Linked DNA regions of Homo sapiens: regions 1 and 2 are each linked to region 3. The links are contacts of gene promoters, found by promoter capture Hi-C in human tissues and cell types (Jung and others, 2019). All regions are on one chromosome and are shown on one strand. The core of a region is centred on a gene start or on the middle of the fragment in contact, and the rest is flanking DNA. Distances in the headings are between cores, read along the strand shown. Region 1 has its middle 70 kb from the start of MYO3B. Region 2 overlaps UBR3 (ubiquitin protein ligase E3 component n-recognin 3). Region 3 holds the start of MYO3B (myosin IIIB).

Region 1 (2,994 bases), core at 2-2,501, 70 kb after region 3:
AACTCAGGACGAAGGGACTTCACCCCACCCCAGCATTGTGACTGCTGGGAGACCTTGGGGTGCAGCATGGGAACAGTGGCAGCAGTCATTGCCTACTGGAATGGAGGAGCAGGAGCAGAGGACATTATGTGGACAAGCTGGAGTGAATAGAGCCACACTCTGGCATTAGAGAGGAGCAGAGAGGAAGAAGCCAAGAGGTCAGTGTTTCTGATCTAGCATGGCTTTGCTGCTTCCAGGGACCTCTTGATGCATTCATGGAACTTGCAGGGGTTGGGGAGGTGGGTGAGCGATTCACACCAAAGCTGCCAGTGTCTCAAGTTGTCTGCATGGAGAGAAATGTTTCTGAAGCATACAGCACCATTGCTGCTGCAGGCTTCGTGTGCATGAGTTTGACTATAGCCGTGTCCTCCAGGACACTGTCATGGGCCAACATGCTATGTGCATATATCCTAGATGGGCCATTGGTCTATCAAACCTAGTGAGACAAGTCCAGCTCTCAGGTGAGCACAGGTTAGGCTCAAAAACCGGCTCTGCTACACTGGTTTCAACTTTGTTCTCATCATATGCACTTGGCTAATGGATTCTGTCCCTTGAGAGATCACACAGTTAAACTAGACCATCCTGCAGATCTCTCGATACCCAGCCTCAAACACCCCTAACTCGATGTTGCTTTCTTCCTAAGCTCCACATTGGGTTGTGGAAATGATATTCGCTTTAACCCATTGAATCCCAGCTCTGCCACTAACTCGTTGTGTGACTTTGGGAAAGTTGTTTACCTTCTTTGAGCTTCAGTTGCCCCATCTATTAAATAATAATGTATATTTCACAGTATTGCTTTATAAATATCAGCCCCTTTCCATTTCTCTATAGTTCAGTGTCATAAGTAATAGGCCCATGTTTTGACATTTGAAAAGACATATTTATAGTCAGCCACTTTGTTCATAACTTCATATATTAATTTTAGTTTGAACATTTCGTTAATGGAAAATACTTCAGATATAGCAGAAAATTCTCCAGAGATATTTTTCAATGGGTGGTAGGTTTTAAAGTGTCTCTGTCTTTTGGAATGGATGGCAGACAATTAGCCTGCCTTTTGCATGAGAAATCAGACTAATTACTGGTGAGGCTTGGCTAATGGGGTCCTTTGTGAACTCTCTCCCTAAATGAGAAATCTTTAACTTTTCACAAAAATGCAATCTCATTTGTGCTGCTGATTCCTAATATTTTGAAATAAATGCATGGCCTCTGGGCTTTTGTAGTCAAATAGCCCAAATCAAACCAAGCTGCTCTGCTAGGAGAAAAGTATTTTGTGTGAATCTCCTGGAAGAAACTTTTAGAACCAGTTTGGAGTTACCATAAGCAAAGACTGGCTGTAGCCTGCTATGGGGCAAGATTCATGGAACTTGCAGGGGTTGGGGAGGTGGGTGAGCTATTCACACGAAGTGGGCCTGGGCTTAGAGTGTGGGTTTACCCTGTTTGGGCTGAATTGGCTTGTTCAGGTGCTTGAACAATAAATTCTGGCATGTTTCAGAGCTCTGTTTATAAGAAGCTGGCAATTTTCATGACCCCAAGTTGACTGCCACCCATAGACACAGGATCAGGGTTCTTTCTGTATCTAAGGCAGAGGAGACAAAAGGTCAGGAAAACCATTATCTGCCCTGCATCAACTTGAAATAAGGATAAAAGTCTGTGGAGGGTAAAAGGAGTTTGAGGCATGGGACATCCTAATAATGACAGGGTCATCCACCAGCAGGAGGCCATTCAAAGAGAGCTTGAAACAGACTGATAAACATGGGAATGCTGATAGGAGGAGAGGAATGGGCAACCCAGGGCTTGGCAGAAATCTGGAGGAATCCAAAAAACGACCCAGAGCTGAGCTGTAACCCATCAGGTCAGCTGGAGGGAGCTGCTCCGGTAGAATCTCCAGTGGCCGTAAAGGGGATGTCTGAAATGTTCTACTTAATAGTCTTTCCTTCAAATTTCCTTCTTAACAAGGACTTTCACAACCACAACTCTTGAGTTATGGGGTCAAAATGGAACTTGGAGATGCTAGGTGCCTTTAGATTCCTTTTGTAATATTAAATGACATTAAATTGCTTCCTAGATGACCCTAAGCTCTTCCCCTATTTTATTTTCACCAGCTCCACTAGTTCTTCCTGAAACTTTGAGAAGGGATGGTTGTCTGCCCCATAAAGGTTTGGGATATTCTGGGTCCCCAATCTGAACTGATGGTGGAATGGAAAGAATCCTTCATTTTTACTTAATAAAGATATCATTCAATTAAAGAAAAGATTTGGTAGAAAACTTTAGGAAGATAAGAGACAGAGATGGTTTTAGGACATACAGATAGTAAAGTTGTAAGGGGAGCTTTTGGCAAAAGTAGGAGCCCGTAAACCTCTCCTGTACCTGGCCTAGAACACCTTGATCTAAAACCTCTTTTTAAATCCTTTAGCATCTCCATCTCCCATTTCATTCTCAGCATGTGTACCATCCCTGTAGAAAATAAGCTTAGGCAGAGGTCTCCATCACCACATGTAAGACTAAATAGGTCATTAAAGGCCTAAGCCTAGGCAGAGAAAGAAAGCCTTTTATTTCTCAATAACCATGATTCTCAAACTGTAGTGTGCATAAGGACCACCAGGAAAATATGTTAAAGTGTATAGAGAGTTATTCCCAGGATGTGGTTCATCCTCCTCCTCCTCCAGGATAGCACTCTGTGAGTCTTAAGTTGCTCACAACAGCTGCTGCCTCTTTTCAAAGATCACAAAGGAGCAAGATTTCCATATCCTCCCATGCAAAGCCATTTGTGTTTAATTGCCCTTCAGTTAAGAAGTTCTTCCTTAAGTATTTCATCAATTCTCTCATTGCAAGACTCATCAACTCCTGCTCTATTCTCTGTGGAGACTGAAAAACAAGAAGTTAGTATGTAATTTCTAACCCTTCATTGAATCGCAGAGTGTAAAAGCCAAACGAAACTGCAGATATCATCTGGCA
Region 2 (3,013 bases), core at 350-2,849, 100 kb after region 3:
CACATTACCTACATGCAGCCATAATCCACCTAAATCAGTGGAGTAACTAAGCTAGCTTGTTCCTCATCAACAAGTTCATGGATTAAGTGTCCATGGAAGCAATGATAAGAACAGTATACAATACATCATTTGCCAATACTCAGCACCCAACCCTGGACTCCAAGGATGGCATTCTGTAATGAGTTGATTACAGTGGAACCCTTCCATTAAAGGGAAGGGATAACAATTTGTCCTCACTGAACTTGACACTTATTATAGGTTAGGCTGCATGTTATCCAGTAGCCCATAGCACATTACCTCCAATAATTTCCCTCATGAAGAGAGATGTAAGGCAACAGGTGGATGTCCATGGAATTCACTGATCTTAACATATATTCAATCATCTGAAAAAAGCTGTGGTATTTTAAATCATGAACTACAAAACTGATTTTTTCAGTGCCACAAAAATTATGAAATTCATGAAATTTACAAACTTTTAGATGGCACCAGCTGGAAGAAATCACCTACAGAATGTGTATGCTCTAAACAGCAACCAGTATATATGGGTGACCTTTTTCACAATTGGAATGCATATGTATGGGAAACAAGAGGTGGAAAGTATTTAACAGCTGTAACACCTCTCATGATTACACCTAAAATTCGGTCTTGCCTTTCCTGTTGCGGCCTGTGTGGAGTTCACTCGTGGGTCTCTGAGACCCAAAAATTGAGAGCATTTTCGCACCCCAGGGGCTGCGCCTGTGCCATGCCACAGATCAAATATATTGAATTACACTGTAAATGCCATGGATATCATTTGGATTACCATGAGAAAAAGGGAAAGAAGGAAAGTTGAGAGGCTTATGAACATTCAAAGAAGTCAAAGAAAATGATTGGTCTGAAGGCTAAGCTTTATCTTAAACAGCACCATGCTGAGAAAATACAAATGAAAAAGACCATCAAGATGCATGAAAAGAGAAACACCAGACAAAAGAAAGACTCCACAGGGAGCAGTACCTGCCTATCTGCTGGACAGAGAGGGACAACCTCAAGCTAACGTACTTCCCAGTATGATTAAGCCGAAATGAAAAGAGAAAGCAGGAAAATGGAAAGTCCCTCTGTCTAAATGTAACTTGCCCAGGGAGATACAGAAGTGTTAAGAGTTATTTGAACAGAGCCAGGTGCAGTGGCTCATGCCTGTAATCCCAGAACTTTGGGAGGCCAAGGTAGGCAGATCATTTGAGGTCAGGAGTTCAAGACCAGCCTGGGCAACATGGTGAAACCCTGTCTTTACTAAAAATACAAAAATTAGCTGGGCATAGTGGCAGGCGCCTGTAATCCCAGCTACTCAGGAGGCTGAGGCAGGAAAATCACTTGAACCCAGGAGGCTGAGGTTGCAGTAAGCCAAGATCGCTCTACTGCACTCAAGCCTGGGCAACAGAGTGAGACTCTGTCTCAAAGTTATTCCAACAGGAAAGAGAAAGACGCAGGCATAGAGGAGGATGGTTACTAAAGTCTGCTTTGTTGGAGATGGCTTTACAAGAAAACTACTTATCTATGGAAGATTCATCAGGCCAATGGGCTTGCGTTTCAAGAAAGCCCATGTAACACATCCTGAACTGAAAGCCACCTTTTGCCTAACAATACTTGGTGTAAAGAAGAGTCCCTCATTCCCAATGTATATAACTTTGGATGTTATTACCAAAGGTACTGTTACTGAGGTGAATGTGAGTTGGGCCTTGTGACACAAGGAGGCAAGGTTATTTGGGGAAAATAGGCTGTGGTTACCAACAATCCTGAAAATGATGGATGTATAAATGCAGTCTTACTGGTCTGACAGCACTTTCATAGATATTTATTGAAGACTACACACCAACTGAAAAAACTGCCATTACTGTGATGTTTCTGAATACTACCAAACAGCCTTACATGTCTGCAATCAAGAGATTTATTAAATTGTAAACATTAAAATGGAAAAAAAAATTCGGTCTTAAATTTCTGCTTCACTGCTATTCCGGACTCTTCTGCGGATTTACAAGCTATGTACTGTCTAACCTCTAGTACGGTTTATAACATCACAAGGGTGGCTTATCGCATTGCCTGGAGGGATTGACCATGACTATCAAGAAGAATAAAAATATTGCCATACAATTGGTAGAGCAATATTTTGGAACTTAAAAACCCCTACCACCACCCCTACCATAGACCAAGCTTGAAAGGCAGAAATTTAACACAGAATGATTACAGCCTTATAGAAACAAAGACAGGACCAATCACCAGAAGCTCAGCCCTTTCAGAATAAAGTTTGGTATCACATCCTTGCTCAAACAAATCCAATCATCCGTTGAGGTGTGCTGGATCACGGATGGTAAAAGAAGAAAGTCATATATATTTGACTGTATATTAGCTGCAGCTTTATGACTACTTGCAAATCTTGCTTACTGTATCATATATCTTTGCAACATTTTCATTCTCTTACTATTGAATTCAGGGTGAGCAGGTACTAATTAAAATTTTCCAGGCCATCTGGGTGTGAGTACAAATGACAGGAACAATGGACATCTCTCAGAGCTACTGGATGCAGAGAGGCCTGATGATGTAAGGACTATATGTGACATCAGGTTGCTTATTTGGGAAAGTCACAGATGCATTTGCAGTCATAAGTAAAATGGTTACATCATTTTCAACAGCAGAAGTGAAACTGTGAATGAGAAGAAGGGTGTGTATGAGCCAGGCAGGTAAGATGTGAAAGTAGTGGGCCACTAGTTTGTTTTTTAAATCCTCCTAGCATCCTTTGCTGCTTTCTTATATTAATAACATTATAAGTTCTTTTAGAAAATAACCCCTTTTCTTGCTCCGTACAGTTCTGATGGGGCTGTCCCCAACACAAGATCCTGCCCCACCACTGGGGTATATGTATTACAACAGTTAGGCCAACCAGATTCTCTCTCCCAGGAATCTGAACCTTGAGCATGCAAATTAAAGGAAGGAAAATGGTTGAGGCTTAGTTATCTGGTGGCAGCACTTCAGAGAAAAC
Region 3 (2,700 bases), core at 201-2,700:
AGAGAGTGAGAGCTCAAGAGAGAGAAAAAGGAGACTGAACCTATCCTTTTACTAGGAGCCGTCTCCCACAATAACAGCATTAATCCATTCATAAGGGCAGAGCCCTCATGACCTAGTCACCTCTTAAAGGTCCCATTTCTTCTCACAATGGCAATTAAATTTCAACATGATCTTTGGAGGGGACATTCAAACCATAACCATGGTAAAGACGTAAGAGTAGGAACTGGCTTCTTCACAAACCACCTATCTGGATGCTGCTAGATAGGGCCTGTTCAAGTATAGCTCAAATGTCTTCTCTTCTAGGAGGCCTTTCCTAATTTTCCCACTAGAACTGACCTTTATGGTTCCACTGATTATGTACTCTTTTCCTTTCTTTAAATTTTATTTTATTTTAAGTTCCAGGTTACATGTGCAGGACGTGCAGGTTTGTTACACAGATAAACATGTGCTATGGTGGGTTGGCTGCACCTATTAAGCCCCCCATGCATTAGCTATTTATCCTGATGCTCCAGGGGAGACACTCAGGACTGGCATTTGACAGAGCTTGGTAGAGGAATCCAATGATCTCTAGGTTGATCTCTAAGTTCCATCTCTAATGTTCTATGGATTTTAAACCTTGAATATACAAAATTACTGAGAGGAAGAAAAGAATCATGGCATAATGGAATTTATCTACTATTGTTTACATTGTCATGTTACCAAATTAACAAATCTGTCATGATATTGCAGTCACTAAGGAACAATACATACCCACAGCTCTTACAAATGATTAACTAAATGATCAGATTTTTCATTTCCCCACCAAAGCATGAGGAAATTTATCTTAGCTTTAGCTGCCTGAAACCTCTCTTGGGTGAAAAACATTAAAAACATCTGCAAATTACTGATGACTAATGCCCTTCAATTTGGCCTCAAGCTGAGAAATTCTGTGCAGAAATAAAGTGGTTTATAATCCCACAGGTCCATTCTATTATAAACTGCAGGTGGCAAATCAAGTGACTATGAACTATGCTGTGTGTATGTGTGTGTGTGTGTGTGTGTGTGTGTGGTGTGTGTCTGTGTAAAAAGCAATACTCAAGAGGGTGTTTATCCTACTCCTTCAAGAGAAATTTAACCACCCAGACAAAAGGCAAATGCTAACTGAGAGGACCCAGGAATCTGGGTGATGTCAGACAGAGGCCCAAAGCCAGAGTGGCTGTCATCCCCCTCCACTGCCCACCAGCCAGGGCAGCTGCATCTGCCCTTTGCAGAAAAACAATCTAAAGCAAGCACAGAAGAAAGCTGGAAGGAAAATAACTGCAACTCACATCGATGACCTATTTTCTGAATCCGGCTTATGAGAGATTGGATTCTCATTCCTCCAAAAACCAGCAGAACACTTCAGGCCCAGAAAATGGTGTCTTTGATGACTAGAATGTATGACACATCATTACCAAAGGACTTTCGATCTAGGTTCCAAGAGGTGTTAGCCTCAGATGACTATTGTGGGAGGAGCTGATAAATCCACCAAATCCTTGGTGACTTTGCTTCACTATTAGGCAAGATTAAGATGATGCTAATTGGTAGTGAGCCTGATCTATTTAGTGTCTCCTACCAGGACACAGAGCAGAATCAAAACCATTCTCACAGATCCTGTTTGCATGTCATTTAACAGTTCCAATGTGATATTCCCCCAACCTTTTAAAGTTCCTTCATTCCAGATTAAATTCCTTCATTCCAAATGCTGCACAATCAAAACTAATCATCTTTTTGTGAGCAAAGGGCATAATCAAAGCATGTAGTCAGGGTCACTTTTCTGAACTGCAGATAAACCCAGGGGAAACACCATGAGTTTCTGATCTGAATTACCAAGCAATGAAACAGTGACTATTCAACAGTGACTATTCATTCAGTAGCATGCCCTGGGCTATATACAGAACAGTAGGTTAAGAGGAGGCAGGGGGTGGGGGGGTGGTGCTGGGCATGGTGGATCACGCCTGTAATCCCAGTACTTTGGGAGGCCAAGGCTCGTGGATCACCTGAGGTCAGGAGTTCGAGACCAGCCTGGCCAACATGGGGAAACCCCATCTCTACTAAAAATACAAAAATTAGCAGGGTATGGTGGTGTGCGCCTGTAATCCCAGCTACCAGGGATGCTGAGGCAGGAGAATTGTTTGAACCTGGGAAACGGAGGTTGCAGTGAGTAGAGATTCTGCCACTGCACTCCAGGCTGGGCAACAAAGTAAGACTCCATCTCAAAAAAAAAAAAAAAAAAAAAAAAGGGAGAGAGGGGAAGTGAGAAACAGGAGGGTAGGGTCCCCAGAAAGCTTCTTTTCTGGCCAGCTAACATGACACATAGGCCCATGTGAAATAGTTGAAGACTGTGCAATAACACTGGATAAGCTATATCCATCAATTCTGAGGAGGAGTCAGTTCAACCCAGGACCAAGACTTGAGTGGGAATGCTTCCTGGAGCAGATAAATCTAGGTACAGTTTTGAATGAAGAAGTGAAAAGGATTAGTGTAGATGAGGCAGGAGAGAAACCCAGAGCCAAGAAACAGCACACAGAGAATGCAAATATGAAGAAGGTGATTTAAAGGACAGCGATCTTACTCCCGCTAGTCAATAATGGCCTTTGTGTTTCCATTTACTGTCATAAGAATCTTAAGAATGGGGATAATGTGTTCTATCTTCCTATATTTCCTACAGTATTTGCACAT

The links. The method cuts DNA at HindIII sites, captures the fragments that hold promoters and counts their contacts. A contact is called where the count stands out against the background at its distance.
Region 1: a contact is called between a fragment that was not itself captured here and the fragment with the promoter of MYO3B in region 3, in 5 of the 25 tissues and cell types used here (H1 embryonic stem cells, IMR-90 fibroblasts, liver and 2 more).
Region 2: a contact is called between a fragment that was not itself captured here and the fragment with the promoter of MYO3B in region 3, in 2 of the 25 tissues and cell types used here (H1 embryonic stem cells and adrenal gland).

What each region holds. Positions count from the first base shown.
Region 1 is chr2:170,106,416-170,109,409 of GRCh38, reverse strand. No RefSeq gene overlaps it. Among named protein-coding and RNA genes, the nearest start is that of MYO3B, 70 kb to the left of the region's middle. RefSeq lists an enhancer at 2,527-2,994. The HindIII fragment of the contact is 5,361 bases long and covers 1-2,994 here.
Region 2 is chr2:170,076,024-170,079,036 of GRCh38, reverse strand. All of the region lies in intron 36 of UBR3 (ubiquitin protein ligase E3 component n-recognin 3), which reads right to left. It also overlaps the pseudogene NSA2P5. Among named protein-coding and RNA genes, the nearest start is that of MYO3B, 100 kb to the left of the region's middle. RefSeq lists an enhancer at 482-1,261. The HindIII fragment of the contact is 5,181 bases long and covers 1-3,013 here.
Region 3 is chr2:170,176,897-170,179,596 of GRCh38, reverse strand. It overlaps MYO3B (myosin IIIB), which reads right to left and starts at 1,450. Exons shown (of 35, transcript NM_138995.5): 1 at 1,308-1,450. The coding sequence starts at 1,309. The HindIII fragment of the contact is 10,734 bases long and covers 1-2,700 here.